7 separate regions of the Homo sapiens genome follow, and regions 2, 3, 4, 5, 6 and 7 are each linked to region 1. The links are contacts of gene promoters, found by promoter capture Hi-C in blood cells and fetal thymus (Javierre and others, 2016). All regions are on one chromosome and are shown on one strand. The core of a region is centred on a gene start or on the middle of the fragment in contact, and the rest is flanking DNA. Distances in the headings are between cores, read along the strand shown. Region 1 holds the start of RMI2 (RecQ mediated genome instability 2). Region 2 overlaps ZC3H7A (zinc finger CCCH-type containing 7A). Region 3 overlaps ZC3H7A (zinc finger CCCH-type containing 7A). Region 4 holds the start of DEXI (Dexi homolog). Region 5 overlaps TXNDC11 (thioredoxin domain containing 11). Region 6 overlaps CLEC16A (C-type lectin domain containing 16A). Region 7 overlaps CLEC16A (C-type lectin domain containing 16A).

Evidence for each region. The method cuts DNA at HindIII sites, captures the fragments that hold promoters and counts their contacts. A CHiCAGO score of 5 or more calls a contact.
Region 2: a contact is called between a fragment that was not itself captured here and the fragment with the promoter of RMI2 in region 1, in 4 of 17 cell types (activated CD4 T cells, naive CD8 T cells, total CD8 T cells and 1 more). The highest score is 7.7, in activated CD4 T cells.
Region 3: a fragment that was not itself captured here is called in contact with the fragment with the promoter of RMI2 in region 1 in 1 of 17 cell types (activated CD4 T cells); the score reaches 5.2 in activated CD4 T cells.
Region 4: a fragment that was not itself captured here is called in contact with the fragment with the promoter of RMI2 in region 1 in 7 of 17 cell types (activated CD4 T cells, monocytes, naive CD8 T cells and 4 more); the score reaches 7.6 in activated CD4 T cells.
Region 5: a fragment that was not itself captured here is called in contact with the fragment with the promoter of RMI2 in region 1 in 5 of 17 cell types (naive CD8 T cells, activated CD4 T cells, naive CD4 T cells and 2 more); the score reaches 7.8 in naive CD8 T cells.
Region 6: a contact is called between a fragment that was not itself captured here and the fragment with the promoter of RMI2 in region 1, in 3 of 17 cell types (activated CD4 T cells, total CD4 T cells and non-activated CD4 T cells). The highest score is 6.9, in activated CD4 T cells.
Region 7: a contact is called between a fragment that was not itself captured here and the fragment with the promoter of RMI2 in region 1, in 9 of 17 cell types (activated CD4 T cells, naive CD8 T cells, naive CD4 T cells and 6 more). The highest score is 11.7, in activated CD4 T cells.

Annotation. Positions count from the first base shown.
Region 1 is chr16:11,342,867-11,347,284 of GRCh38, forward strand. RMI2 (RecQ mediated genome instability 2) reads left to right here and starts at 2,593. Exons shown (of 2, transcript NM_152308.3): 1 at 2,593-2,900. The coding sequence starts at 2,606. All of the region lies in intron 1 of LOC105371082 (a long non-coding RNA gene), which reads left to right. It overlaps LOC105371083 (a long non-coding RNA gene), which reads right to left and starts at 2,346. Exons shown (of 2, transcript NR_135174.1): 1 at 2,247-2,346. RefSeq lists silencers at 2,662-2,821, 2,842-2,921. The HindIII fragment of the contact is 15,776 bases long and covers 1-4,418 here.
Region 2 is chr16:11,791,532-11,795,949 of GRCh38, forward strand. All of the region lies in intron 1 of ZC3H7A (zinc finger CCCH-type containing 7A), which reads right to left. Among named protein-coding and RNA genes, the nearest start is that of ZC3H7A, 3.5 kb to the right of the region's middle. The HindIII fragment of the contact is 170 bases long and covers 2,592-2,761 here.
Region 3 is chr16:11,773,064-11,777,481 of GRCh38, forward strand. It overlaps ZC3H7A (zinc finger CCCH-type containing 7A), which reads right to left. Exons shown (of 23, transcript NM_014153.4): 5 at 3,688-3,846; 6 at 3,389-3,469; 7 at 3,257-3,295; 8 at 1,917-1,950; 9 at 1,173-1,456. Among named protein-coding and RNA genes, the nearest start is that of ZC3H7A, 22 kb to the right of the region's middle. The HindIII fragment of the contact is 2,860 bases long and covers 1,257-4,116 here.
Region 4 is chr16:10,938,352-10,942,769 of GRCh38, forward strand. It overlaps DEXI (Dexi homolog), which reads right to left and starts at 4,117. Exons shown (of 2, transcript NM_014015.4): 1 at 3,218-4,117. The coding sequence starts at 3,654. The coding sequence ends at 3,367. It also overlaps a transcript of CIITA not described here. RefSeq lists a silencer at 3,707-4,256. The HindIII fragment of the contact is 1,233 bases long and covers 1,714-2,946 here.
Region 5 is chr16:11,686,984-11,691,401 of GRCh38, forward strand. TXNDC11 (thioredoxin domain containing 11) reads right to left here. Exons shown (of 12, transcript NM_015914.7): 8 at 4,307-4,418; 9 at 1,320-1,462; 10 at 874-983. Among named protein-coding and RNA genes, the nearest start is that of SNN, 21 kb to the left of the region's middle. The HindIII fragment of the contact is 1,215 bases long and covers 1,828-3,042 here.
Region 6 is chr16:11,011,320-11,015,737 of GRCh38, forward strand. The region is part of intron 11 of CLEC16A (C-type lectin domain containing 16A); the gene reads left to right. Among named protein-coding and RNA genes, the nearest start is that of CLEC16A, 69 kb to the left of the region's middle. The HindIII fragment of the contact is 3,806 bases long and covers 628-4,418 here.
Region 7 is chr16:11,029,532-11,033,949 of GRCh38, forward strand. All of the region lies in intron 13 of CLEC16A (C-type lectin domain containing 16A), which reads left to right. Among named protein-coding and RNA genes, the nearest start is that of CLEC16A, 87 kb to the left of the region's middle. The HindIII fragment of the contact is 5,549 bases long and covers 1-4,418 here.

The sequences.
Region 1 (4,418 bases), core at 1,343-3,842:
GCATGAACGGGTTGGATTCTCTCTTGGTTAATGTTCCTGCTCCTTTCTCAGCCTAGGAGCCTGGTTACTTCATAGGTCAGGGTTGAGGTGTTGTATTAGTCTGTTCTCACACTGCTATAAAGAACTGTCCAAGACTGGGTAATTTATAAAGGAAAGAGGTTTAATTAACTCCAGTTCCGCAGGGCTGGGAGGCCTCAGGAAACTTACAATCATGGCAGAAAGGGAAGCAAACGTCCTTCTTTATGTGGCAGCAGGAAGAAGTAGTGCCGAGCAAAGGGGGAAAAGCACCTTATAAAACCATCAGATCTTGTGAGAACTCACTCACTATCACGAGAACAGCATGGGAGTATCCGCCCCCATGATTCAATTACCTACCACGGGGTCCTTCCCACGATATGTGGGGATTATGGGAAGTACAATTCAACATGAGATTTGGGTGGGGACACAGCCAAACCATATTAGGTGTAGAGGCCAAAACCTCATAGAGGCTACTGAGAGTCTATGGGCCAGCCCTCTAGCTTCCTTAAGCCTCAGTTTCCTCACCTGTGTGGAACAGTCTTTTCAGGGTCTGTGGGGGTACATGGGATACTTCCTACAAAGTTCTTACAATAGGACCTGGCTCAATTTTATAAAAATGAAGCTCTTGGCCGGGTGCGGTGGCTGACGCCTGTAATCCCAGCACTTTGGGAGGCTGAGCGGGCAGATCACGAGGTCAGGAGTTTGAGACTAGCCTGGCCAGTATGACGAAACCCCGTCTCTACTAAAAAATACAAAAATTAGCCAGGCGGGTGGCGTGTACCTGTAGTCCCAGCTACTCAGGAGGCTGAGGCAGGAGAATCACTTGAACCTGGGAGGCGGAGGTTGCAGTGAGCTGAGATGGCACAACTGCACTCCTGCCTGGGTGACACAGCGAGACTCCGTCTCAAAAAAAAAAAAAAAAAAAAATCAAGCTCTTGCTGAATACTCTCTGAATGCCTGGTACTGCAGGAGGCCCTGGGAACTCAAAGTTTCTCTTAAGAACTGACCTTGACTTTAAGGATTGCCTGATTTAGGATCTGTGGACTTTGCTGACTGGGGACATCCAATTTTTAGGGAGAGATTCCTGGGAATTTTATTTGAAGGATGCACAAAAAGATTTAGCTTTTACGGGTGGATCACGAGGTCAGGAGATCGAGACCATCCTGGCTAACACGGTGAAACCTCGTCTCTACTAAAACAAAGTACAAAAAATTAGCTGGGCGTGGTGGCAGGCACCTGTAGTCTCAGCTACTCGGGAGGCTGAGGCAGGAGAATGGCGGGAACCTGGGAGGCGGAGCTTGTAGTGAGCCCAGATGGCGCCACTGCACTCCAGCCTGGGTGACAGAGTGAGACTCCGTCTCAAAAAAATAAATAAATAAATAAATAAAAAAGATTTATCTTTTAAGTAGGTCCACAGTGGATATATTTATAAAGTGAAAAATTGGAAATAGCCTTAATGTCCAACTGTAGGATATTGGTTTAATATGTGATAAGACAAATCGAGTATTATGCAGTCATTCAAGAGGAAGCAGATGGATATTTGCTGATACAGAAAGATGTTCATTATTAAGTGAAAACAATATACAAAACACTATTTGTATATCAGTAATAGGCCAGGCATGGTGGCTCACGCCTGTAATCCCAGCACTTTGGGAGGCCAAGGAGGCAGGATTGCGTGATCCCAGGAGTTCCAGACCACCTTGGGCAACATGGTAAGACCCTGTCTCTACAAAAAATACAAAAATTAGCTGGACGTGGTGGTGCACGCCTGTAGTCCGAGATACTTGGGAGGCTGAGGTAGGAGAATCACCTATGCCCGGGAGGTGAACGTTGTAGTGAGCCGTCACTGTGCCACTGCACTCCATCCTGGGCAACAGAGTGAGACCCTGTCTCAAAAAAAATACACACACATATTTTAAAGCCTAAAGGCTAATATACCCCAAAATTAACAGTGGGTATCTATAAGCGGCTTTTACAATTATTTTCTTGTTCTACATTTTTCCCCTATTTTTTTTACAATAAATGTGCATTTCTTGTCTGAAAAATAGCAATATATTTTATTAACCTTAAAATTATTTGATGCTATTAAAATATAACTGAAAATAATAATAAAAGAAAAGGCAAGTTTGCCAGCTCTCCCCGTCTCCCTCCCCAGCCTTATCTCCTGACTGGATTCTTGCTCACTCCCAATAAACACGGACTCTTAATTCGTTTCAGTATTTACTAACCTCAAAACAAGGCAATGTAAAGATGAATAATCATACTCTGTAGGTGATCTGCATCCACGCCAAATTTTGAGATGCGTTGAAAGAGGAAGTTCTTTACCTCTCTGCCTTCAATTATTTATTCTCGTTTAACCCATTTCCTCCGTTCATTCCTAACTTGAGGGCGTTTATTTACTTTTATCTACGCATGCGCACTCCTGGCTGCTAGAGAGGGCCTCTTCGCCCGGCGGTCCCGCCTTCTGACGTCGACCATTGGCCGGCTCTGCCAGCGCGCTCCTGATTGGTGGCTGAGGGCCGGGCCCCGCTGCTTCTCAAAGTTGGCGGGAAAGCGGAGGCGGGGCGGAAGGGTGCGGCGAGGCGGAATGGCGGCGGCTGCGGACTCGTTCTCAGGCGGCCCCGCGGGGGTGCGGCTTCCGAGGTCGCCGCCACTCAAGGTGCTGGCGGAGCAGCTGCGGCGCGACGCGGAGGGCGGCCCGGGCGCGTGGCGGCTGTCACGGGCGGCGGCGGGCCGCGGGCCGCTGGACCTGGCGGCCGTGTGGATGCAGGGCAGGGTAGTGATGGCGGACCGCGGCGAGGCTCGGCTGAGGGACCCGAGCGGGGACTTCTCGGTCCGCGGCCTGGAGCGGGTGCCGCGCGGGCGGCCCTGTCTAGTCCCAGGTAATGCCCGGGCCTTACCGGGCGCCCTCTTCCCTGCTGCCCGCCGAGAAGTTGCCGAGGCCAGATTCGATCTTGTTGTTGACACTCGAACGGGGGCGGGGCGGGTCTGGCCCTCCTCCGGGCCTCTGCCCCTGCGGGTCCCCGCTTGGGTACCCTTGCTCCGGTCCCTCCTTGGTGAAGTTGATCTGATGATAAGCATCACCTGCCGTCCCTTTTACAAATACAGATTCCTGGGACTCTCCCACCCCTAGTGGGAATCTTCTGGGGAGGGACTCCGGCACCTTCGTTTGTCACAAGCCCCCTCTCCCAGTTGATATCCTTGTTTTGGGAAATACTGTCCTGGGAAACTTCTGCTCATCCTTAACGTCTCAGCTCAAATGTGCCTTTCTCAGGGAAGTCCTCCCTAGCCCCTAGGAACGGGAGACCCTCCTGTACTTCTCCTTAATTGAACTGTCTTGGGCTGTAGCTCACTCATGTTTGCCTCCTCTCTTTTTTTTTTTTTTTTTTTTTTGAGACGGAGTCTCACTCTGTCGCCCAGGATGGGGTGCAGTGGCGCGACCTCAGCTTACTGCAGCCTCCACCTCCCGAATTCAAGCGATTCTCATGCTTCAGCCTCCCGAGTAGCTGGGATTACAGGCATGTGCCACCACACCCGGCTAATTTTTGTATTTTTTAGCAGAGACTGGGTTTTGCCATGTTGGCCAGGCTGGTCTCGAACTCCTGGCCTCAAGTGATCTGCTCATCTCGGCCTCCCAAAGTGCTGGGATTACAGACATGAGCCGCTGCGCCCTGCCTGCTTCCTCTCTTAAACCACTGATGCTCAAACTTGAGCCAGCATCAGTCTCTCCTGGAGGGCTTGGTAAAGCTGGGATGGCTGGGGCTCCACCCTCAGGGTTTGTGAGTCAGGAGGTCCAGGTGGGGCTGGAAATTTGCATTTCTAACCAGCTCCCAGGTGATGCTGATGCTGCTGGTCTGGGGACCATACTTTCGACTTTTTAAATGTTTTATTTATTTGAGATAGGGGACTCACCGTGTTGCCCAGGCTGGCCCTGAGCTCAAGCAATCCTCCTGCGTCAGCCTCCTTGGGTAGCTGGGACTACAGGCCTGTACCACCACGCCTGGTTTGGGGGCCATACTTTGAGAACCACTGGGCCAGCCCAAGCTACTGGAGGGCCAGAGCTGTGTGGTCCTGACAACTGTATCCTCAGCATCTGGCCCAGTTCCTGACACATAAGTGCTCCAAGAACCAATAGTCTTGAGTGATAGGCAATGGGCATCCATCTCACTTGTTCCCTGGGATGTCAGTTGAGCACGTGTTGTACATCAGCCCCTCATGTGCAGTGTTGGGCTGCAGCCGAGACCTAGATAGAGTCTGCTGGGAGACAGGCAGTGAGCAAGTGTCGCAGAGGATCGCTGATCTTTGGGGAGCCATGAGGATGTGCAAGGTGCTGAGTGGCCCGGGGAGGCTTCTAGAGGATGTGAGGTCTAAGCTGAGGAGCTCTGAGGCTCCATGGGCCT
Region 2 (4,418 bases), core at 1,427-3,926, 450 kb after region 1:
GAACAAGATCTGGGTCCAGCTCAACAAATACTTGAACAAAGAATGAAGTAAGCAGCCCAGTGTAAAGAGAATGCCTCATACAAAGTTCAGAGGCCCAGGAGATAGAAGCTGGTAAAACCATTCACAAGAAGCAAGCGTGAAGAAGGAGGGTGCCCAGCAGGAAATGACTGCATGCAAACAGAGCTGGTTATAGTGGGGCTTGGCCCCCAACCCTTTGGGGAAACAAGGTGGGAAGTGAATCAATATAGTGGGAACTGCCTGGAGACAGCGACGGAAAAAAACCTGAAACCATAAGGGATTCCTCAAGATATACAATGACAAGTTTCACTGATCCCCTCTTCTCCTAAATAAAAAAGAATTCCAGGGAAGAAGGCACTTTGTTTTTTTGTTTTGTCTTTGAGACAGTGTCTCCCTGTGTTGCCCAGGCTGCAGTACAGTGGCACAACCATAGCTCACTGCAGCCTCAACCTCCAGAGCTCAATCTTCCCATCTCAGCCTCCCAAGTAGCTGGAACTACAAGCACATGCCACTATACCTGAATAATTTTTGTATTTTTTGTAGAGACAGAGTCCCACTATATTGCCCAGGCTGTTCTCAAACTTCCAGGCTCAAGCAATCCACCCACCTTAGCCTCCCAAAGTATTGGGATTACAGGCGTGACCTGTGTCTGGCCCAAGGAGAGATACTTTGAACAGTTCATTTTAAAGCAAGAAACTCAATTAAATAAGAATTTCATTAAATTAACTGAACTCTTACAAACTGGAATATCATCTCTCTGGGATCAGCTGATTTAAAATTTGTTACTAATCTTGAAGTTATGTAAGATCTCAAGGTATCCTGGATCTTCAGAACTCCCTTACTATTTACTCAGTGCCTGGTAGGTTAAACTCATTATCCCAAAGTCTAGTACAATGTTGGTAACTAGACAAATAAATCCACATCCATGAGCTTTTGACCTTACATGGTAACTTTAGAAACTAGCTCACATTAACAGAAGACATCAAGGTAAGGGAAATGTGACTGCAACATACTGAGACAGAAATAGTAGCTCTTACTGGACTCCAGGCACTGTTCTACATGCTTTATACGTATTAAGTCATTTAATCCTCCTGCTAACCTTAAGTGACAGGTACTATAAAGAAACTGAAATACAGATAAGTGACGCAGCTGGCCCAGGATTACACCTAGGAAGTAGCAGAGCTCAATTTCAAAGGCAGACAGCCTGGCTCCAAGCCTGAGAGCCTATCCACCTGGCTCTTCTGCACATTACGTGCCAAAGACGCCTGGAGGGGAGTGAGCATCTGTCTAGGGTGGCCCTGGGCTGGGCTCTGAAAGACAAATATGGCTCTGATGAACAGGTGGGCACTTTAAAGCCATTCAGGAGAAATGAAAGAAACACACGCATGCGTGTGCACTTGTGTACACAAAAAGATATGCTCAACAGACGTCATTTAATGCAACTCAGACAAAGCAGAGGGCTTTCACAGGAATGCAGTAGGCCAGGAGTCTGGACATCACTCCAGGGAAAATCTTTCAAGGGGATCTGCTCCACCCAGAACATAATGTATTTAAATACAAATAATATTAAAACAGCCTTACTTACAAGATGTACTAACACAGGACCAAAGTCTCCCAGTGAAGGCAGTGCAGAGGTCACCTAGCACAGCATTTGTACTTTTGCCTAAAAAGGTATCCCTACATTTCAAGTGAAAAATTACAGGCTGGGTGCAGTGGCTCATGCCTGTAATCCCAACATTTTAGGAGGCTGAGGTGGGAGGATCGCTTCAGGCCAGGAGTTTGAGACCAGCCTAGGCAACATAGGAGACCCCATCTCTATAAAAATGTTTAAAAAATTAAATGGGCATGGTGGTGTACACTGTAGTGCCAGCTACTCGGGAGACTGAGGCAGAAGGATTGCTTGAGGCCAGGAGTTTGAGGTCACAGCAAACTATGACTATGCCACTATACTCCAACCTGGGTGTCAGAGCAAGATCCTGTCTCAAAAAAAAGGGGGTGGGGGGGAGGAAAAATGATACATTCCACTCCATATTCAATTCTATCCCCAGACTGAAGCCTGTGTAATATTAATAGCTTTAAAACAACAACTACAAAGTAGTTAAAGTATCATTATTGTCATCCTTAATTGGCAACAGTATATTAACTGGCTCTTGCAACACTTACAAAAGCACCTGGGGCACAAGGCAAGCCTCAGAAGGCTGCAAACCCAGATGATAAGACATTAAAGTTGTTGAAGCTCCTATTGGATACTTTATGAAACAGTTTCTCCCTTTTACTGAAAAGGAAAATTTCATGAGAGACAGTATGCCAAACAACAGCAGGAAGGTAATGTTACATTTTGGCTGGAGTTCTTCCCCCCACAGGAACTATTCACTTTGAAATTGCTGTCAGATTTCAGATTCAGTAAGATACAAAGTCTGTGAAGAGCCTGAAGAGCCTCCCTCTGCGAAGAGGCTCCGCCTGCCAAGAGCCTCCCTCGGCACCCACGCCCTGCTAAGTGGTGGTTCCCAGGAACATCTCATCTTATCTATGACCTCTGTATGGAAGAACTCAACAGGAATATTTCATGTAAAAGCTTCATGACAAATGATTTGCCTGGGGACACTGATACCACCACGATGTACCCAAGACCGCCAGCCGATGAAGTCTTCCCAACCAAGTAACCCCAACACACTCTCACCTTCTTACCAAATGTGCCAGATTAATGTCCTGCTCCAAATTCAGGCCTTTTCAGAAAACATAAAGCTTCCCGCTTTCTATTTGTGAAAAAGTAACCTCGTTGCTTTACATAAACGAAAATCACCTCATTTAATATGCCTTTTGTGTACATGTAAATTAAAACGTTATCACTAGCAGTAATTTTTAAACTTCTGGATTAATACTTTAATACTTCTCTCCTCCTTAAAAATTATCTAAAATTTCTTCTTGATTTGCCAACACCTCACACTTTAAGTAATTTTCATAAGGATTCTGGAGAAAAATATTTTCACTAGAAAAAAAACAAAACAAAACAGAACACTTCCAGACGTTATCCAGAAGACAAAAGTTTGCTCACATCATACTGTCTCTAGAAAGCCCTTTCTAGGGTATCTGTGGCAACAGGATACAGACGTCTTTTGTTTCTTTCTTCCTTTACTGAAATGCTCAAAACTTTCCAACAGTCACTCTCACCATCCCTGGAGTTGAGAGTTTCTATAATTGATTCTCTTCCACTTACAATGACAATTTAACCCACCCCAACTGGCAGGTTTTAAAATCAGTCAAAACTAAGAATTGTGGAACAATGTGGCTGACAAGCCACCATTCTTATTTGCAAAAACTGACAGAATCTGGGGAATGGGAAGGAAAGAGGGTGTAGGTCTGTGTAAAACCCCCAACGAAAAGTCACAGTAACATGAAGAAAGGCAGGAATTCTCCACTTCGTTTGGATGGCAGAAAATCAACGGGCTCTTTGTAGAATAAACACACACACACAAACACACACGCACAAATATTGATAATATTGAGCCTCAACAACTCATGATCTCATCCTGAGACAAACCTCATACAACTATTTGTAGCCTCCAGCATACAGCAGATAGGGAAAATTTTTCAACAGGGAAAATACTGTCCATTAACTTGAATTATTCTGCAAATTAGGACAAGACCCATTGTGCAATTCAGTTCAACAGTTTGGCTCAGTATGAGAAGGAAGAGGCAGTGGATTCTTTGAGAGCTTAAGGGAAGGAGGCCACATGCCATCAGAGAAGCAGGAAAGATAAGCAGATAGACATGTCTTCTCAGGGCCACCACCCATTCAGATGCCCCAGCTGCGCGCTGTCCAGTCGAAATATTGTACAAAATATATTACACAAAATAAGCCATACGTGTCATTGTATGTATGTATGTATGTACGCATGTATGTGGAGAGGGAGTCTCGCTCTGTTGCCCAGGGAGGAGTGCAGTGGCACAATCTCGGCTCACTGCAACCTCTGCCTCCCGGTTCAAACGATTCTCCTGCCTCAGCCTCCCCAGTAGCTGGGATTACAGGCGCCTGCCACCACGCCTGGCTGATTTTTGTATTTTTACTAGAGACGGGGTTTCTCCATGTTGGCCAGGCTGGTCTCGGAATTCCTGACCTCAGGTGATCCACACACCTCGGCCTCCCAAAGTGCTGGGATTACAGACGTTGAGCCACCCCGCCCGGCCCGTATATGTCATTTTAAATTTCCAAATAGCCACACTAAAAAAAGAGAAAAAGAAAAGCAGTGAGATTAACTTTTGTTTTTTTATTTGTTTGTTTTGAGACAGTGTCCCAGGCTGGAGCACAAAGGCACAATCTCAGCTCACCGAAGCCTCAATCTCCTGGGCTCAAGGGATTCTCCCACCCCAGCCTTCCGAGTAGCAGATTCTCCCACCTC
Region 3 (4,418 bases), core at 1,437-3,936, 430 kb after region 1:
ACTCAACTATGCTGTTGCAGTGCAAAAGCAGCCACAGACAGCACATAAAATGAATAGTCACTGATGTGTTCCAGTAAAACTTTACTTACGGACCCAGAAATTGGAATGTCATATAATTTTATTGATTGACTGATTGAGACAGGGTCTCGCTGTGTTGCCCAGGCTAGAGTGCATGGCACAATCAGTGCTCACTGCAGCCTCAACCTCCTGGGCGCAAGTGATCCTCTACCCTCAGCCTTCCAAGCAGTGGGACCACAGGCACGCACCACTATGCCAGGCTGTTTTTAATTTTTTGTAGAGATGTGCCCTTGCTATGGTTACCCAGGCTAGTTTCATATAATCTCCATATGTCACAAAATATTATTCTCTTTTTTGTTCTTCTCTCAACCATTTAAGAATTGTAAAAAATATTCTTAGTTTGCAAGCCATACAAAAACAGGTAATAGGCCAGATTTAGCCTGTGGGCTACAGTTGGCTGAACCCCGCTTTAAAGTATGTGGTTGCTAGAGGATTATCTTTAAGAATAAGAAGTCCTGAGGCCGGGCATGGTAGCTCACGCTTGTAATCCCAGCACTTTGGGAGGCCGAGGCGGGTGGATCACGAGGTCAGGAGATCAAGACCATTCTGGCTAAGGCAGTGAAACCCCATCTTTACTAAAAATACAAAAAAATTAGCCAGGCGTGGTGGCGGGCGCCTGTAGTCCCAGCTACTCAGGAAGCTGAGGCAGGAGAATGGTGTGAACCCGGGAGGCGGAGCTTACAGTGAGCCAAGACTGCGCCACTGCACTCCAGCCTGGGCAACAGAGCAAGACTCCGTCTCAAAAAAAAATAAATAAATAAAAAGAATAAGAAGTCTTTAATCTATATAATTCATTTTTTCTTAAATATCAAACGCCTATTTTTTATCAGAATGTTATCTTTGCCCTTTCCATAATATGAGATCCCAATATGAATTGGAAAAAAATTGGCTAATTACTAGATAGCATTCTTTTTTTATTTCAAAATGATCAAATTAACCAGTTTCAGTAGAGAAGAAAAAAAGTAACTTTCAAGGTTAAAAAAACCCCCAAATTCAGCCTATATGCAATACTGAAAAAGTCTATCAAGTTATATTACAATTTTTAAAAAGTTAACTCTGTCTTCAGAAGAAACTTGAGTAACACTGAAACTTACCATAACAGTTTCATTAGTTTCAGGTGCAGAATCAAGCAGGTCATCTAGTTCATCTCCAAGGACCATATCTCCATCATCTAGAAAAGCTTCTGGCATAGTGAAGGGCATCTTTCCTCCATTTGCCAGCACTGCAGATGGCAGAGCGCTCTCTTCCACTTGTAGTGGCAAAATAGAAGTTAAGGGCATAACAGGAACTGAGGCCAGCTCACTTCCAACTTCATGAGAAAAACTGGGTGCCGGTAAAGAGACAACAGGAACTGCTTCTTGCCTTGGAGTTAATAAATCTGTAACACAGATGGAAATGTACTCAGTCACTTTCATCGTACTTACATAATAATACCATTAATCCCCAATAATAGAGATACAAAGATGAAAATATGAAGGCAATTATAAAAATAATAAAATTGACAGTATAGTAAAGCAATTCCAAACAGATACAGTCACGTGTGAAAACTTATCCTTCTTTCACAAAATGCCTGTATCTCTCTTTGGGCACAGCTATCAGACAGTGGCAAGGCCACAGTGGGTGTCAGTGATTGCTTACTAACATCCAACACTTTTCAGTCACTCACTGGCACATCCAAAGGCACAAAGGGAGCATTGGAAATCATTTTCACTTTCATATTAATACATTAATATGAATATAACCACACAGCGATATTATTTGACAATACATCACATACAAAGACATCAGGTACAAAGCTGGCACTATTCAAATTGTTAAGATGATATGTGAAAACATACCTGGCTCAATATCTTCCACAGAATGGTTCAAAGCCTAGAAATTAAACCAAACAATGGGTTATAATATTTTCAGGACTCTAAGCCATAAAACAATCAGTAAAACTCACCCTAGGCCGGGCACAGTGGCTCACGCCTGTAATCCCAGCACCTGGGGAGGCCGAGACAGGCAGATCACGAGGTCAGGAGTTTGAGACCAGCCTGGCCAACATGGTGAAACCCTGTCTCTACTAAAAATACAAAAATTAGCCAGGCATGGTGGCAGGCATCTGTAATCCCAGCTACTCAGGAGGCTGAGGCAAGAGAACTGCTTGAACCCGGGAGGTGGAGGCTGCAGTGAGCTGAGATAGCGCCACTGCACTCCAGCCTAGGTGACAGAGCGAGACTCTGTCTTGGAAAAAAAAAAAAAAGAAAAAAAGAAAAAACTCACCCTAAGAGAACAATGCAGGTTTCCACAGAAATTCAACTCCCAATTAAGATCCAAGAAATGAATGGAACACGCAAACCTGTATACATGTGGTGTTAGGTGAGGTGCTGGTCTAGCAGTGCTGCCACTTATTTCTCGTGGACCAGCATTTCTCAAAGGCTATTCAGCAGAATAACAGGGATGAATTTGGCCACCAATCATTGCCCAACTCACAATAGCCATTAGCATCCTATTAGCCCCAAGAAAATTTTAATTTTAAAATTAAAAACAAAAACAAAAAAAAACCCTTTGTTAATTTTATCACAAATGACTCCCAAAACTAGTATTTGGCCCTGAACCACTCTTATTGCACTGAAACCTAACATCTATTAACATCCTATAAAATGCCCCACTGGAGCATTCAGGAAATGCTGGTTACAGCTAAAATATATTACTTGAGTTGTAGATGTTCTTTTGTAAAGTGACTAGAAGAGGCCAGAAGAGATGGCTCACGCCTGTGATCCCAGCATTTGGTGGGAGGCCAAGGCAGGAGGAACACTTGAGCTCAGGAGTTTGAGGCCAGCCTGGGCAACATGGTGAAACCCCATCGCTACAAAAAATACAAAAATTTAACAGGCCATGGTGGTGTGTGCCTGTGGTCCCAGCTACTCGGGAGGCTGAGGTGGGAGGATCACTTGAGCCCAGGAGGTGGAGGTTGCAGTGAGCCAAGATCAGGACACTGCACTCCAGCCTGGGCAACAGAACAAGACTCTGTCTCAAAAAAATAAATAAAGTGACAGGAGGGTATTGCCAATTACGTGTTTGAGGAATTAAAAAGGTTCCAAAAATAAACACACACCAAAAATACTAAAAGTAGAATTGCTCCCATCCTTCCCTTTAAAAAAAAATATAATTTTGACAGAAAAAATAACTTTACCTTGGTAGCCCCATCCCCAGGAACTGATTTTAATGAGAGCTGAAATAAAATAAAGACACTAATTTAAAAACAGAACTGACTCCAAGTTCTAAAACAAAATGAAAACACCTTATGCAGAGAACTCCAGCTTACCTCAGCTCTGACATACGCTTTTCTTATTTTAAATCCCAATTTCTGAGCTAGTTCTTGAGTTAGTTTTATTACATGCTCATCCTGAAAAAAATAAGTATGTATAATTAACAGGGTTATATTTACTAATGGTGAAGAAGAATAGACAAAACAGGGAAGTTTCCCATCAAGACACCTGCTTCATTAGCATTTATACCCAACTGAAGCAGGTTGATGGATGACTGGAAAATTTAACTCTTTAAATGCCATTTATTATGATGTAAATGGTTACGATGTAAACAAATAAACTATAAATTCCATACCTGAGGCACTGCTAAGGAGCACTTTGCTACAGCATCGTAAGCCTTTTTGTATCTTCCTAAATCACTTAAAGCCTTAGATTTCCGATACAGAGCTTTGCAGTTACTGGCATTTAAACTGAGGACTATATTGCAGTCCTCCAAAACTTTATCATGGAAACCCTGGTGTGTAAGACCAAAGAATAAAGTCAGCAATCAAACAATTCATTTCTTGCACTGAGGCCTTCCTGTAATAAAAACAAATTAATACCCCATCCTATTACCCTCCCTCTAAACTCCAAGTTAGCAGTATTACTTTTATTTTTTAAATTATTTTATGAAATTTCAAATACAAAAAAGTAGAAAGAATATCATGAATACCCATGTACACACCATCCAGGTCAGACAAATGCTAATATTTGGTCAGAAAGTCCCCAGATCTTCAAGAAATAAAGCTTTCCAGACCTAACTGATGTCCCCATGTGTCCCTCTCCTATTCGCTCCTCTGTAGTTACCCTTTGCTGGAGCACATTAAGATGTCAAACAGAAACGTAACTCCAAACAGCTAACTGATAAGGAATATATTACCCAAAACAAAATAAATAAACAATGAATGCTCTTTAACAAAGAGCTAGGTGACAACACGGATATTTTTCTTAAATTCATGGTTATATTTTACCGAGTATCCACAGTGAAAATTAAAAGCACTTCAGGTTGGGCACAGTGCCTCACAGCTGTAGTCCCAGCACTTTGGG
Region 4 (4,418 bases), core at 1,080-3,579, 400 kb before region 1:
TGGGTCCACACATAAGAGAAAAAAAAAAAAAAGAGGGAGCAAAAGTAGGTGCACCTGTTCATCTTGAGATTCATCCTGGGCCCCACTGTGTGACATGCTCCACGCCCTTAGTCACTGTTTCCTGGATTGGCGTGTGGGGAACACATGTGACCACATGAGAATGGCTGAGAAAGAGCAGGACTGACTACCGGCGTTCCCCTGCTTATGGAAAGGGGCCTGGAGATGAGGCTCGGTCAGATCATCTTGAGGTCTTTCCTGGCGGCTTCCCTGCTGCTAGCTACCCCTCTCATACCCTGGGGTTCTGAGCTTCCTCGGCACTTGGGGGCAAGGCCTCCTTGGCTTGGATTTGAGGGTGGGGAGGAGGGAAGGCTGTGCATGGCTTCCACCACTTCTCCAGGCCTCCCCACTTCCCAGGGTCAGGCCCTGACACCCCGAGAGCTTTGCAAGGGTGTCCCTGAGAGATATTTCCTGGTGTTTCTGCTTAAACAGCGTTTGCTGCAAAATATGTCGAAGCATTTGGGATTCAGTTTTTAGTTCAGAATATGCCAATGTTTTCATTTGGAAGGGGAAGTGTTTCTGTTGATGTGGTAAAGAGATAAAATAAGACGTTCCTCACCAAGTTACACTGCTTCAAAGTCAAATGCTTGGCTTGGAGACAGGGATTTATCTTGGGATCGCAGGCCCTTAGCACACGGCCTGGCAGAAGAGCAGGCAGGGTCAAAGTCTGTTGAATGAGTGAGTGCATATGCAAAGGGCCTAGACACAGGAGTGCGATACAATCAATGCTCAGTACAGATTTTGAATGGATTCCATAGGTTCTACTTTTGAGAGTTGTTCTCAGTCTGTTCATGTTTCTCTATCTTCACTAAACTCCCCTCATCCAAGCCTCTGTCACCTCTGGCCTGGACAACTAACAGCATCTGAGGTGGTGGCCCTGCTTCCCCTCTTACCCCTCAGCTCATTCTGTCCACAATTGCCAGAGTCATTTTTGCAAAATGGGAATGGGATTGTGTCATCTCCTGCCTAGAACCTTCCAATGGCTTTCCACTGCTCTTGGCTATGGCCTTCCAGGTCCTCCATGGTATGGCTCCCACCCACCTCACTGACCTTTCCTGGGGCTGTTCTCCAGCCACATGGGCCTCCTTTTGGTTGCGGAAAAACCAACTCTCTCTCACCTGAAGGTCTTGGCACCACTGATTCCCTCAGCCTGGACTGCTTTTCTCCAGATCCTTCTATCAAATTAAGGCTCAGCTCAAAAGCATCATCTCCTTAGAGAGGCTTTCTCTGACCCCTCAGCTAAAGCAGCCCACCATCTCTATCCTACCGTTTCACTTCTGTTTCACTCCATGTCTACACCTACAGAGACCGTCTACTAGAGGCCAGGCACAGTTTTAAGTGTTGAGGACATGGCAGTGAACACAACAGGGAAGCTCATGTCCTTCTTGCCTGCCTTCATAGTTCCGAAAAAATCTGATTCTCTTGTTTGGGTTCCTACTAGTCTTCCTCACCAAGTGCCAAAGGGCCAAGGCTTGGTCTGTCTTGTTCACTGTGTTCAATCACCAGGCACTGTACTGAACCAACAAGCATTCATTCTGTAAAAGAACGGACGGATGGATGGCAGGCAGGCAGGCAGGCTGGGGAGGTGTGCAGAGCACCTGGCACACACTCCCCCTGGCACTTGGTTCTCGCTAAGATGTTACTGAGCTCAACTGAAGCTTTTTCTTCAAAGAAATCTCACTGTGAACCCATTAGGAGAGCCCTCTGCCGCCAGCTATGCTGTCAGTAGGTCCTACCCCACCCTGTACCACCATCTGCAACAGACTCAATGTTTGTGTCTCCTCAAACTTCATATGTTGAAACTCTGATCCCAAATGATGGTATTGCGGGGTGCGGCCTTAGGGAGGTGATTAGGTCACGAAGGCAGAGCCTTCATGGGTGGGATTAATGCCCTTATAAGAACAGTAAGAGATAAATGTTTAAGTCCCCCAGCCTATGGTGTTCTGTTATAGCAGACTGAACTAAGACACCCTCTGCCTGTGGTTGTCTTGGCAAAGCCAGGTAATGCAGGAGAGGGGTGGACTCAGCCTGCTTGCGGTGAATGGCATTAGTGTCCATTTTCCTAAAGGAGCCCTTGCCCACCATATCTCAGCATCCCCTCTTCATTGCCACTTAGACCCTGTGCCCAGTGACACTCCAGTACTGTCCAGTCTCAGGGGCTGAGCCAAGGCGTTCCTGCCTGCCCTGTGACCCTCACCAGACCTGGCAGCTGCCTGACAGCTTGTCTGGCTCACGTGTTCTCTCTAATTGAGTCTAGCTGCCTCTCTTCCTTGTGACTATGACCAAGTCTTACTCCTTCCTGGACCTTCATTTCCCTACCTCTCACATACACAGTGGGCTGGATGCTGGATGCAAAGCTCCCTCGTCACAGCCCCAAAGACAGGACTTGACCATCTCAGTGCAATGACCCTGTGGTGCCTTCTCCCGAGGACCTAAGAGCCCCCTGAGCGCTTGCAAACACTGCAGACAAAGCGAGCCCTGGCACCAGCTCCCTGCCTGCCTGTTCTGTGAAGGGAGCCTACAAAACTGGCAGCCCCTGCAGTTCTGAGCTGCAGAACTGATGAGCTGGGGCACCCTGAAACCTGACTCCAAAATAGCAGCAAACCCAAGGCCAAAAGGAAGTACGGGCTTCTTTGCTTGCGATTTCTCCTCTCACAGCTTTGGCCTAGAGCCCCTGCACTTAATCCCCACCCAGCTACCCCAAGGGCCACAGTACAAAGGTGATTCGTGCCTGGCTCCCTGTGTCTTCTGACACCCCTAAATCTTTATCCTTCTAGGACAAGCGAGAATCCCCCAAAAGCCAAGGTCATCATCAAGCCAGGATGAGGACTGGAGGAGGAGCTGACAGCTCTGCCTCAAATGGATTTGGGAGCGAAGGCTTTTTCCATAAGCTTTGGGGGTAAGTCACAGAGCTACCCCAAATGTAACTTAGTCTCGGGGTCTCCTTCCTTTTCACCAGCTGTCCCCTTTGCTGGAGGAAGCTTTCCAGCCCAAACGAAGGGCTTAAGAGGAGTCTGGCCATTCCTGGCATCCAGTTAGACCTGGAGGAGGTGAACGGAGGAGAAGCCTGAGGGAGGGGTGTGTATCCGGCCTGGGAATTCCTCCCTCTCCCTTGCTAGCGCCCCAACCCGCCCTCATCCTGTTCAGAGAGGGCACTTACAGGCCTCGGAGGCAGGGGAGGGTCTCCTCCTGGGGAACCATCCCCGTCCAGATGGTGCCCCCAACCAGCTGCGGCGGCATGATCTGGGCGGCTGGTCCAGGGCATGGGTTGCGGATCGTGTAGGGAAGAGGGGAACAGCAGTCGAGACCCTACTCCAAGTACGCATCAAAGACGTCGAGCTCCGAGTCAGCATCGTAAAGGCCCGAGCCGGGGTCGGAGAGCACGCCGAGGTCCACGAGCGCCTGGTCCATGTCCTCGGGCAGGAAGACGAGGCCCACGTTGAGGACGATGTACTCCATGAGGAAGGCGTAGTACAGGATCAGCACATTGACGAAGAACAGGCCCACGTAGAACATAGAGGGCAGCAGCGGCGGCGGCACGTAGGGGACCAGGGGGCCCAGTGCGTCCAGGTGGGCCGCGACCCGGGCGCCGAGCATGCAGCGGGTGGCAAGGGCGGCGGCCCGGCGATCCCGGCGAACTCAGCCGCTGCGGCGCCCGGGCGGCCGGCGAGGGCACAGCGCAGCCATCCAGGGGTACCCTGGAGCCCGACAGAAGCAGGGCCGGGCTCCAGATGTCCCCTGGCAATTGCGCCCCGACCCCCGAAATGCGCCGGGCGGGTCACCGCACCCCGAGATGTGCCCCCAAGGATCTCTCGACCGCCCGGGCGGCGAGGCGGGCCCCCCTGAAGTGGCCCGCGGCTGCCCGGCTCCCTCGTGGCGCCTCCCTGGCGCTCGCAGGGCCTCGCAGAGCCGGTGGGGATCCCACCGCGGCTCAGTGTCTAGGGCCGGTCCCGGCAGCCTTCTCTCCCGCCCCGCCCCGCAGGTCCTCGCGCACCCCCCGCGCCCCCGCAGGCCCAGCACCCATGGCTGCGGCCGCCGCGTAGCCCTCCCGGTGGCGCTCGGAGCTCCGCCTCCCGAGGGGCCCCGAGCTCATTGGCAGGCCGCCCCCTGCACGCGCTAATTGGCCGGCTCAACGCCCGCGCTGATTGGCTCCGGCCGCCAGGGGGCGGGTACCGCTTCGCTCCGCCCCTCGGGGCCCTAGCGTCTGAGTTGCTTTCCTGGTTCGGGTCTGCCCTCAGATCTCAAATCGAATTCGCTCTGCGTATCGAATAGGGGGAGGTAAAAGAGACTGAACACAGTTCAAACCTAGACATAATGCTAAGGCCGCAAAAGCCGAAGGAAACCCGGGCTACCGCTGCACC
Region 5 (4,418 bases), core at 1,185-3,684, 340 kb after region 1:
TATATCAAAAACTCTCCCAACATAGTAACTCCTCAGATTTGATTCTAATTATTACTTACAGTGCATATAACAGGTGACACAGAGACACTGGAAAATATATTAATGGTCCCCCTTTTTGTCTGCTTTCCCTGTTTTCACTGCACGTATTTCTAGTGGAATCTGTCCATTTTTCTCTCTTTATTTTTCCAACTGCTTCCACTTTGGAAAGTTTCCATCTCCCAGAGGAATCAGCAAATCCTATTTTTTGTTTTGATTTTTTTATATTTAACTCTTATCTATCTGTAGGGTTTTGGGGGAGGTGGGGGGTTAAATGTGAACAGTTTTCCTCACCCAAAACTGCTTACTACCCCATCTAAAGACTCTGTATTTGAGCCTTCTTTTCCCAAAAAATATTTTTAAAAATTTTGTTTACTCAAAAGCGCACATACAGTACCCATGGAATCACAATACCAGAATGTGGATATCTATTGGTCTTTCCTTTTAATTTCACAAATGAGATAAACCAGGGCTGGTGGAGAGATCTGCTTGGGATCCCAGGACCCACTGGCATTGCCTGGGGCAACTGTCCCATGGTATTCCACGGGGCCATCCTGGCAACCAGGTCAGTGCTCTCCCCACAGAACTGCACTCAGCCACCTACGAATCTAGTCAGGGCTAAACATCAACATCATGGAAGGAACACTCAGAATTCATGAGGAAAAGTTCAGTTTCAAAGAGGCTTTGCTCATGGCTTCAACCTGACAATTAAATTCAGCCAAGTCCTACCAAAGGTTAATGGAAAATGGGCAGACCCTCACACACCATATGGCTAAGCTGCAAATAAGAGTGAAAATGGGCATACAGCCCAAAGCGCTGCAGAAGAGGCCTGCTTACCTTGCCACAGTGAATGTGTCCATGGGCAGGTTCCGAGCTAGCTGGATGAAGATGTGATTGAGGGATGGACAGAAGCCGCACCACGGAGCGTAATAGAGCAGGAGAACGTCCTGTGGGAAAGGGAAGACAGATGTTACTTGCACCGGGAAATGGGCTCTTCTTCATTTCTTTCCTCATTGCTTAGAATCCAGCAAGCACCCGAAAAATGCTACCTATGCAAATATTACAGTGAAAATTTTCATCTTTAGGTCTTTCCAATACTGTGCTTTCTGGAGCACTTTTCTGAAATTTAAAAACCACATGTAATTCATTCACGGTCCATAATTGGGCCATCACGTGGTTACTCTTCTATACATCAAAAACAGCTGCTCACCCCAACAACTGTAGTTTGGAAATTATTTTAAGAGGGACAGATGGCTTAACTTTTGCCTCTCATGACTCCATACCTGTTTTTGAAGGACTACTTCCCAAAAGGTATCAGTTGTCACTTCAGTGATTAAATGCTGAGACGGGAACTGGGCAGAGCCACTTCCAATGAGATGCCTTTTCAAGGGACTATAGAGAACGCTGAAGTTTTGAATAAAAGACTCTAAAAATAAAGAGAAAATGAGATCAACTCTCCTCTAGATACAAAGAGAATAGCTGGCCTACTTTTAAACTCCACATTTTAAAAACTCAAATGACTTCATAGGCTCACATTTTTAACATTTCACCTATCAGCAAAACCCCAAACAAAGCTGCCCGGGTGGCATCAGGTTTAGCTCTGGTAGTATTAACTCAGCAGACAGTAATGTGGATAACAAAACACTATGCAATGTTAGATGCTCTAATATTCATAGACTATTCTTTTTTTAAAAGGACTGGTCCACAAATAGACACCAAGTGAGACTGTATAAATCATCAACAAGCCACCATCTTTTCAAGAAATTTCACCCTATAATACTAAGACCTTTAAGCTTAACCACAAATGTGACAACTGCACAAGCTACAGTAGTGTGGAATGTGTTTAAATGCTCATTAATTTGAGGACAAGGAGCTACAGTTTTTTGTTTCCTTTATTAAGGTTCTTTAAGTTTCTTTTTTTAAAGGTTAAGAAAAAATTATATGTAGTGGAAAAATACATAAAACCCATAATAATCAAAAACCTGATTTGAACCAACAGTTTTACCACAAATTCTGCCATCTTCAGAGTCCTTTGCTTCATCTGAAACAATACTAATTTGAATTTCACTTTTTTTTTTTTTTTTAAAGAGACAGGGTCTCACTCTGTTGCCCAGGCTGGAGTACAGTGCTGCAATCATAGCTCACTGTAGCCTTAAACTCCTGGGCTCAAGCGATCCTCCTACCTCAGCCTCCAGAGTAGCTGGGACTACAGGCGTCCACCATTGCACTCAGCTAAAGTTTCAGTTCTTTTTCTTTCTTCTAACTCCCTCCATTTTGAGGTGCAATGGGCAATGCAGCGTGCAGAATGGAAGAGGAAGTGAAGAATGTCATGTGAATACTAAAGAGAATTCATGATCAGCATCTGAGAAACACTTAGTTGGCTATGTTTTTGAAACATGAAACCAAGAATTATTTCCTAATCTGAATAAAGCCTAAATTCTGAAACTAGCCTAGAGACAGCTGATTTATGAGTTAAGTCTCTAAACCAACAATGACACACAGTAGGTGTTTTTTACAAGCTCCCTAAGAATTCTGTCACTAACTGCAGGACAAAGAACAGCTAGGCTAAACATTTCAGAGAAGATACAGAAGATGGAAAGAAATCTAAAGAAGGCTTCTTTCAATTACCCTTAAATTCAAAGTGAACACATTATGAGGTCATTAAACACTTGAGCATTACTGAATGGAATTCAGGAAAATCTAATACAGACTACCTCAAAAATACATGCTTGTAGGAACACTGACCCCATTTCTCTGGAGTCTCTTTCCCATTTAAAAAAAAAATGCTTGTTTCATTTTAAGAAAGCTCAACACATCAAAATGACTTTAGATAACATGAATTGGGAGTAATCTATAATATCGACAGATTTATGCCCTTCAAAAAGTGACTGGTCACAGGGTTCTTTTACACAGTGAGGAACTCTTGGATTTATAATATGTAACTTGATATAGAAAAATCAATATTTACATAAAGCCTTTTCACAAATGTGTCTAATGTAAGAAACAAGCTTCACCTAGATTTGAAAGAGGATGGCTAAAAAGACTCATATGTAGAAGCTCTGAGTCTACTGTTGAGTTCATACTTTAAAACTTGAAATGAAAGGTTTCCTTCCCTACCAAATTCCTCCTTTCTCCATTCGGCATACACTGACCCTCCCTCCCGTTTCCAATGAGGCTGAACTAACGTGGCTTTTGAATTCTCACTTCATTGTGTGTAGTCAAGGGCATCAGCAAATTCCTGGGAACAGGCCAGGGTGGGTCAGCCCAATGTTGCTGCCAAGTCCCAGGGGCAAGCTCTGGGTGCTTTCTCATCATGGAGCCTTACTCCTCAAAAAGTGGGTTTTGCTGGTTTGCGACTGACACTTATTTATTTGCACTTTACACTTGTTACAGTGTAGGTACCCCAGGTCCCAGCAATATTACTCAGTACATTATGAAACAGCAGCAGAACAAATTAGGTCTGGTGGCCTTGATCCTTAGACATTTAAGCCTATGAGACAAAAAGGGAGGCAAGGCGGCTCTACTTCCTTCTTCACTGCTCTCTTTTTTTGGAGACGGAGTCTTGCTCTGTCGCCCAGGCTGGAGTGCAGGGGCGCGATCTCTGCTCACTGCAAGCTCTGCCTCCCAGGTTCACGACATTCTCCTGCCTCAGCCTCCCGAGTAGCTGGGACTACAGGCGCCCGCCAACGCGCCCGGCTAATTTTTTTTTTTTTTGTATTTTTAGTAGAGACGGGGTTTCACCACATTAGCCAGGATAGTCTCGATCTCCTGACCTCGTGATCCACCCGCCTCGGCCTCCCAAAGTGCTGGGATTACAGGCGTGAGCCACTGCGCCCGGCCACTGCTTTCTCTTTAAGCTCCTTTAGAACAAAGCTGCTGTCAAGGCTCACTTTCATCAGCCCCTAGGACATCCCACCAGAATAGCTCTCCACCTCCCTGCCTGTTCTAGTCCCCAAGTCCCCACTGCCTGCAGCTGGTTCTACCTTAGACATGTGACAGAAATCGCCAATTTAGAAAGTGGGACTCTTACCCCCACCATGGGCTAAATGACAAACTTATCCAAAATTCAGAGTGAGGAAGTTTCTGTTCCATTTAATAGACAAAATTAGCTTCTTTGAAAATTATGACTGATGGTGGTCTAAAGACTTAAAATGAGCTACGAAGGTGACATCACCCCACAACTAAATGTAATGAGAGCCATCAATAAAATTTACCCATATGAAGTCAAGCAAAATGTACAATGCTTGGGGAAATAAACTGCCTGCAGTACCTAGGGTGAGCTTCATCAGTGCTTGCTTTGGATCCAAGATGTAATGAGATTCTTCTTTCACGTCAACAATTGCCGCAAATTCTTTCACCTGAGTGGAGCTCGGAGCACCCAG
Region 6 (4,418 bases), core at 1,281-3,780, 330 kb before region 1:
TTTCCCTTCTTCTCATTTATTTATTTATCTCTTATTGGTGTGGACTCATGGATTCCAATTTTCTAATGGTTTATAGTGCATTACTGTATTTAATTATTTTGGTGCTTAAATTGTCCCAGAGTTGGCCTGCAGGAACCCTTTCAAGCTGGCTGTCATGTGCTTGCCTGGTGATTTTTTGAGCAGTCACTTACACTTTCTGGCATAACATGGTGTTCTGTGTTCATCTAGTACCTCCTCTGCCTGTCCTTGGAATTAACCATTTCTCTGGCTCCTGTCCATGGGCAGGGGTATTAGAGGCCAAGATTTGGGCACTGGATGTGCTCATCGCTACTGAGGTATCTTTGCAGTTTGGCCCTTTCAGTGGAGAAAGCTAGGAAATCTATGTATGTACATATACAAAGTGTACATTTATATGTGCCTACATATACATACATATAAGCATGCGTACACACACGTATTTTAGAAATCATATGTTCATACCAGTACCCCCAATTCCAGTGAATTTACAGGTTTTTTTTTTCTTGTCCTCTCCCATCTTAGATTTGTATGTTTCTTCTTGTACACTGAGAGCCCTGACTCCTAACAACGTCTACTCACTGATTTGCCCAATCTTATAATGCACCTAAAAGCTTCAGAATTGCTTCACTTAGAGTTGTTTATTGCTTAAAAAACAGTTCAGGATGTTTTTGCAATTTTCCCTCCCCCATGCCCACCCCAATACTTTACTTATCCCCATATAGAGGATATATAGCTGAGCACATTAATTCCTCACTTAACATCAAGGATAGGTTCTTAGAAACTGTGACCTTAAGGGAAATTATGTATAAAGAAACCAATTTTACCATAGGTGAGTTGATATCAACAGGAGTTAAGTTCATGTGGCATACTTCTGGTCACGAAAACATATCTAACTTCTACATAAAGGCCCAAAATACTTCTAGCATTAAACATTGAAATAAATGTGAGCTGTACATACACTTAAGAAAGATTTATGGGCCGGGCACGGTGGCTTACGCCTGTAATCCCAGCGCTTTGGGAGGCCGAGGTGGGCGGATCATGAGGTCAGGAGATCGAGACGATCCTGGCTAATACGGTGAAACCCTGTCTCTACTAAAACTACAAAAAATTAACCAGGCGGAATGGCACGTGCCTGTAGTCCCAGCTACTCGGGAGGCTGAGGCAGGAGAATGGCGTGAACCCGGGAGGCGGAGCTTGTGGTGAGCCGAGATCACGCCACTGCACTCCAGCCTGGGCGATAGAGTGAGACTCCGTCTCAAAAAAAAAAAAAAAAAAAAAAAAAAAGAAAGATTTATGAAAACATGTAAGATAATTACTTACCCGATTTTTGGTGAATTAATGAATGAACAGCAGTCATGGTGGTGGTGGGTTAAATCAAGGAATAAATGTTTGCAAAGTGAAAAATCATAAGGAGCACCTCCTTCCTGCACGAGGTTCAAAACCAATCACAAATCTGGTAGGCTTGTTGAATGCTTTCATACCACATCATTTATTGTCATGCATTTGTATTATCGTCTACTTTATGAATTGTTATTTGACAATCATTTGTATTCATTTATTTTCCAACTCGCATATTTCCAGTTTAGGATCTTGTATGACCAGTGCCTGGGTACTTCAGGACGCCAGGTGGGAGCCAACTCTGGACAGGGCACCATCCTGTCACAGGACAAACTCACACGCCCCCACACTCACTCAGACTGCGCCTGTGTGGACATGCCAGGGAACTTAACATGTACATCTCTGGGATGAGGGAGGAAACCAGAATATGTGGCAAAAACCCATGCAGACATGGCGAGAACATGCAGACTCCACATAGACGGTGGCCGGGACTGGGAATCAGTTTTTTTCTTTTTATCCTCATCCATGTTATAATGCAACAATGTTGAATGAAATGATGTTATTCAAAGATCTGCTGTATTGTGTTTATAAGCTACTTGGATTAATCTGAGCATCCTTCCTTTCCCCATTCAGAGTGGATTTGGTATTCATTTAAAATAAATTTGGATTCAGGCTAGGCATGGTGGCTCACACCTGTAATCCCACCACTTTGGGAGGCTGAGATGGGCGGATCATTTGAAATCAGGAGTTTGAGACCAGCCTGGCCAACATGGTGAAACCCCATCTCTGCTAAAAATACAAAAATGAGGCCAGGTGTGCTGGCTCACACCTGTAATCCCAGAACTTTGGGAGGCCAAGGCAGGCAGATCATTTGAGGTCAGGAGTTCGAGACCAACCTGACCAACATGGTGGAGCCCTGAAAATACAAAAAAATTAGCCAGGCATGGTGATGTGTACCTATAGTCCCAGCTATTCGGGGAGGCTGAGGCTGGAGAATCCCGTTAGACTGGGAGGCAGAGGTTGCAGTGAGCCAAGATCACGCCACCGCACTCCAGCCTAGGCGATGGAGTGAGACTCTGTCTCAAAAATAAATAAATAAATAAAAATACAAAAATGAGCCGGGCATGGTGGCGTACACCTGTAATCCTAGCTACTCGGGAGGCTGAGGCAGGAGAATTGCTTGAACTTGGGAGGCAGAAGTTGTAGTGAGCTGAGATCATGCCACTGCACTCCAGCCTGGGCAACAGAGTGAGACTCTGTCTCAAAAAAAAGAAGAAGAAGAAGAAGAAGAAATTTGGATTCTTTTTTAAAATTTCCAGTTTAGGCTTCTTCTTTCTCATTCTCATTGATTTAATTTTCATTTTAAAAATGCATGGAATATTAGCAAACTGAAGTATCCTTCCTCCCTTCCACTTAATTCCTGTCATCTCTTATAGATAACCAACTTGATTGTGTACTGAAGAAGTCTCCTTCCTGTGTTTCTTTCTGTAAAAATAAGCAGATTTGTGTATGTTTTCTTCTTTTCCTTTCTTACATACAGGGTAGCATATGTGTTCCTTCCACTTAGCAATGTCTCCGGAAATTACTCCATATCATTTCTCAGATCTTCTTCATTCCTTTTCACAGCTGTGCTGTGTGTATGTACCATAGTTGATTCCATCGGTCTGTTATGCCTGGGCATTTAGGTAGTTTCCAGTATTTTGCAATTACAAAGAATACTACAGTAAATATCCTTGTGCATGTGCAGTTGCATACTTCCAGAGGTGTGTCTTGCGGAGAAAGACCTACAAGTGGGCTGCTAGGTTGTAGAGTATAACGGTGATTTAAACTTTCCTTTTAAGCTGTATTTAAGTGAAAAAAAAGTAATAGTTCAAATAAAATGAAAAATAGTACAGGTAACACAGAGACGTGACAGAAATCATAAAAGCAAGCAAATTAAACTATTGCTTCAGTCCCTTCAAACTCCAAATAGTATCATAACTGAGGTTCAGTCAGAGCCCCCTGGAAATCCAGCCTCAGTGCCTCAGTCCCGGCCTTGGGGACCATAGGTGGAACTCTGTATCCACATAGCCTACTGAGCTGCTTTCCTTGGTGGCAGCAGTGTGGCGCCCGCACCTTGGGAGGGAGGCTGGCCAGTGACAACAGGGACAATTGGAGTTGGGGCCCGGAGTGGCACAGAACCGTGCCAACTTCAGGTGTAGCACTATGAGGAGGTTCCCTGTGACCCTGATCATCAGGGGAGGTCAAGTCCTCTTTGATGTCCTCTTCTAAAGATGATACTCACTTTAGAGCAGTGAGAATCTGGGGAGCCCTTTCCCCCAAAAACCTGCTACCAACTGGTCCCATGCCCACATAGCACTTTGCATAGAGCTTCAGGGAATTGGCAGACCTATAAGGGTTGTTTCAGTACCTATAAGGGTTGTTTGGATAAAACTATCAAAAAGAAGAGCAAGAAACCTTTCCTTGACATTTGAAGATCTGATCCGCATTCATCTAGAAAATTAAGTGGAGCCACTCACTCTACAGCTGTGCTAGCTGGATGAGGACTGTGAGGTGCAGCTGTGCGCACAGGTGTCACAGCCAGGGTGTGGAAATCCCATTTTGTGTGGAGAGGCCCATGTGGGTCTGGTTCTGCGTCAAGATGTGACACGGGGGTTGGGGGTGAGGAAGGGGGAGCGGTCCTGGCTTTGCTGCTGCATTTCCAGCTGTGTTAAGAATCACTGCACTTGTGGGTTTCTGTGCACTCATACTCAATATCCAGGGTTGGACCAGACGGTGGTTTTCAAGCAGTTTTGTGTGAAGCCGTAGAATTCCAGAAAGGGGCCTCATGGAGTGCACGAGGGAGCCCACGGCAGTCAGAGGCATTTGATGCCCACCACCCTTTCCTGGAGCAGCTCTGCGCTCATCTGCTGACTGTGGTGGGATGCCCTGGAAAATTGTCCTGCAAATTAGTATTCAGCTGCTTAAAAAAAAAGTTGGATGAGCTTGGTGCTGAATTGTCTTCACCCTCTTCTCTGCTCCGGAATTCTGCTGGTGTCCAACGAGATTAAGCCAGAAAGGGG
Region 7 (4,418 bases), core at 586-3,085, 310 kb before region 1:
ACTGGACAGCAAGCTGGAGCAATCACTGGGCCACTGCCTTTGTGCTTCTCCCTCTCAGGGATCTCTCTCTTATGCTGCCTGTTCATCCAGAGTCTGATAACCATTGTTTTGTATATATTGTCTTGCTTTCTAAGTTGCCTGAATTAGTAGGATAAATTCAGTCCATCTTGGCCAGAAGCATAGCACCTTTAAAGAAAAAGTTGGATTGAAGTCTAATTGATATGCAATAAACTGAACATATTTAAGGTGCACAATTTAATATTTTGACATATGTAAATACCCGTGAAATCATCACCATGATCAAGGCAGTGTATAATCCAGCATCCCAAACATTTCCTCATTCCCCTCCCTTGCTTCCCACACCCCTCTCCCCAAGTAACACCAGTCTGCTTCCTGTCATGCTAGATTAGTTTTGCACTTTCTAAAATTTTGTATAAACAGAGTCATGCAACATGTACTCCTCTTCATGTGGCTTCTTTCAATCCACTTAATTATTTTGAGATCCATCATGATGTTGTGTGTATCTGTAGTTCATTTCTTCTTGCTGAGTAACATTCCATTATATGAACATACCACAGTTTATTCATTCATCTGTTAATGGAAATTTGGGTTGTTTCCAGTTTTGGACTATTACAAACAAAGCTGCTGTGAGCATTTGTGTGGCCCCATACAATGTATGCCCATACAGAGAGTTGTATGAGCATATACATTCTTTTCTCTTGGATAAATACCTAGGAATGGAATGGCTGAATCATATTTCCCATATAATTATGGGAGATATGTGTATGTTTGCTTTTATTTTAAGATACTGCCAAACTGTTTTCCAAGATGCCTATATAATTTTATATCCCATCACCAGTGTACAAGAGTTCTAGTTCCTTTACCTCCTTTCCAACATTTGGTGTGGCCACCTTTTTAGTTTTCACCATTCTAATAGGTTTGCAGTGGTATCTTATGATCTTAATTTGCATATCCCTAATGACATTGAACATCTTTTCATGTGTTTCTTTTGCCATACATGTCTTTGTTAGTGAAGAGTCTTTTCGAATCCTTAGCCCGTTTTTTAAATTGAATTGAGTAAAAAAAATATTGTGTTTCGAGACTTTTGGGTTTTTTTGTTTTGTTTCTTTTAAGACGGAGTCTCACTCTGTTGCCCAGGCCAGAATGCAATGGTGCAATCTTGGCTCGCTGCAACCTCCGCCTCCCAGGTTCAAGCAATTCTCCTGCCTCAGCCTCCAGAGTAGCTGGGACTACAGGTGTGCGCCACCACGCCCGGCTGATTTTTGTATTTTTAGTAGTGACAGGGTTTCGCCCTGTTGGCCAGGCTGGTCTCGAACTCCTGACCTCAAGTGATACACCCGCCTCAGCCTCGAGAGTTCTTTATGTATTTTGAATGCAAGTCCTTTATCAGAGGCATTTAGCAATGATTTCCCCCAAGTCTGTGGCATGTCTTTTCATTTTCATAACAACATCTTGGGAAGACCAGATGTTTTTTAATCTCCATGAGGTTCCTGTGGCACTTTTTAATACCGCCTTTTCTCTGTATTTTTTCTCTCCCATTCTGGACTGCTAGGCCTTGGAAGGCAGAAACCATGTGCTCCCTGCAGTACCCAGCCTACCGCCTGGCACTCAGTCAGTGCTCAGCCAGAGTTTGCTGATTGGTTGCTGCTCAGCTATGTGGCACGTCCCCAAGGCCATCTCTTCCTGGCAGCTTGTAGCTCAGGGCTTCAGCAAAGAAGGTGCTGTCTGTGTGGTGTAGATGCCAGGCTCCATGGGACAGTGGGCAAGCTCCTCATCTTGGTGACTGGTGTTCTCCATGGGCTTCCTTCCTGCAGCCCTGACCTGTACGGGGAGCAGAGACGTCATGGCTTACTGGGTGTGCTGCCATGCACCTTCATCCATCTTATGCGCTGGAGAGACCACTCACCTGTGTTCCCGCCTGGGCATCCTACCTCTTTTTCTTGGGAATTTCTTCTTGGAAGAGTAGAACTGTATATTCAAGGAAATTGAATTCCTTCTCCCATTTTCTGCTAATGCTATGCATGTATTGATTCATTCATTCTTCCAACAAATATTTTGGAAGCCCCTGTTAGATGCCAGGCACTGGGATCAGTATTGGGGATGCAGTGGTGAAGCAAACAAATGCTTTCATGGAATCTGGATTCTCTTAGAGGAGACAGACAGTAAACTAGTAACCAAGTAAAATAATCCCATGTAGCGAGAAGTGCAACAGTGAAAATAAAACTAGGTAATGCGGTGGGGCAGGCTGAGGGTAGAGGGTACTACATCCGCCTGAGCAATCAGGAGAGGCCTCTTGGAGGCTTAAGTGATCAGGAGGAATAGCTTGCAGTTTCTGATGAATTTCCTCATGTAATTAGTTATTCAGCAAATGCATGTGGAGCACCGGCCGTGTGCCAGGCAGTGTGCTCAACATGGGGACTACAAACTCCAGGCAGACCAACCCAGGCCCTTGCCCAAGAAAGCATCAGTCATTCTTGGACAGAAAAGTCCTACGAGGAGGCTGTCAGCACAATAGAGGGTCACTTGCCTGGTGGTGAGCATGGACTCTGCCCGCAGGAGTGAGGACCCGTTTCCTGAGGACACCCGGGCTATGGTAGAGGACAGAGCAAGAAGGGGCATGAGAGCCTGTGGCATATCCATCAGATCACTGCCCGTTCCCTAGGGTGAGTGGCAGCATGTCCGAGGCAGCGGGTGCCCCAAGAGGCAGGCATCTGGAGCCAGTCTGCAGGGGGTGGCACAGGCAGCGACTGAACTGTGTTCCTATGAGCCGTGTGGGGCTGCTGGGGGGCAGTTGGTCAGTTAGTGAGCTGACCCACTCTGCACCTCTCAGAATGGGTTTGCAGTAATTCAGCCAGCGGGTGGGAGGGATGAGAGGTGAAACTGAGAGGCTTTCTTATCATTCAGCAGATACTTGCTGAGCGCTTGCCAGGGCAAGGCCCCGTCATAGGCACTCAAACAAGCCCAGATGAGTCTCACTGAAGTGAACAAGAAGATTAATTGTGACTGTGACAAATGGTAGAAGGAAATGAACAGGGTGGAGTGATGAGGAAGCCTAGTGGTTGTGCTGCAGGGGTTACTAGGTGCTAGTCAGGGTGGTCGGGGAGGGCTCCTCTGAGGAAGGACCAGCAGAGCCACAGCCCAGAGAGTGAGAAGGAGCCAGCTCTGCAAAGACCTGGGGCAAGAGTCCTCCAGGTGAAGGGAGCAGCATGTACAGAGGCCCCGGGGTGGGAAGGAGCAGAAAGTGGGCCAAGGTGAGGCTGGCCAGGCGGGCAGGGGCCAGGTCATGAAGGGCCTTGAAGGCCCTGAAGAGGAATTGCCATTTTTTCTCCAAGTGCAATGGGAAACCCCTACCGAATTTTTAAGTAGGACAGTGATGTGGTCAGATGGAAGTTTTTAAAAGAAACGTTGGCTACCAGACAGAAAGTAGATGACTGGGGGTGGGGATGAGTTGCAGGAGGGAACACCGAGAGACTTGCTAAGAAGCTGTTGCAGTCATCCAGGCGAGATAATGTGGATTGGATTAGGCTGCTGGCTGGGGAGTAGAGGAAACTGGAAGGACTTGTGATTATTTCAGCGCTAGAGCCAGGACGTGCTGATGGATTGAATGTAGGGGTCGAGTGAAAGGGACGAGTCAGATGACTCCTGTGATTTGGCTTGAGCAATGGTGGGGGTGCATTTACTAGGATGAGGAGACAAGGAGAGTCACTAGGCTAGGGGTGAGGGGTTCTGGTTGATTTGAAAGGAGGGGGCATGAAGGGAGGAGCCTGGGTAAGGCTCAGGTTCCTGACTCCTTTCCCTGTGTGACCAATAGTGCCATTTCCAGAACTAACAAGCATGGGCCTTGGAGTAGGTTTGGAGAAGAAACGGAAAAGTTCAAGTCCGGTGCCCTGAGGCCCAGGTGCCTGGGGAAGCTGCCTCGTGGGGGAGCTGCCACCTGGTTTATGCTCAGTCCTGGCCTGTGAGCACAGAGTCTGCATTTGGTGGGGCTTTGCTGGTGGAGGTTGGTTGAGTGATTGGTTTTTGGTTATGCAGCAGCTGATCAGGCTGCACTTGACCTTCAGCCTCACTTTTCCAGATCCTTACCCCCCAAATCAGGTCCCAAGTGACCTGGTCTCTTTCTCATAGATTTTTTCCTCATAGTCAATTTTAACATAAAAGCCACGTTCATAAAAACCAAATGTGAGCTCAGGCCTTCCAGTAATCATAATAGATTAGATGCTGCACCGAAATGAATATCCCACAGTGGAAAGGGTTGACCGGTTGGCGGAAGGCGCTTGTTGTGATTCAGTTGGGCCACATAATGAATTCTGGTTTGTTTCTGTAATAGAAAATGCAGCCTTCGCTCTTCTATCAAGTCCGCTGAGTCCTGGGCCAGAGGTGGAGGGATGGGGGTGAGT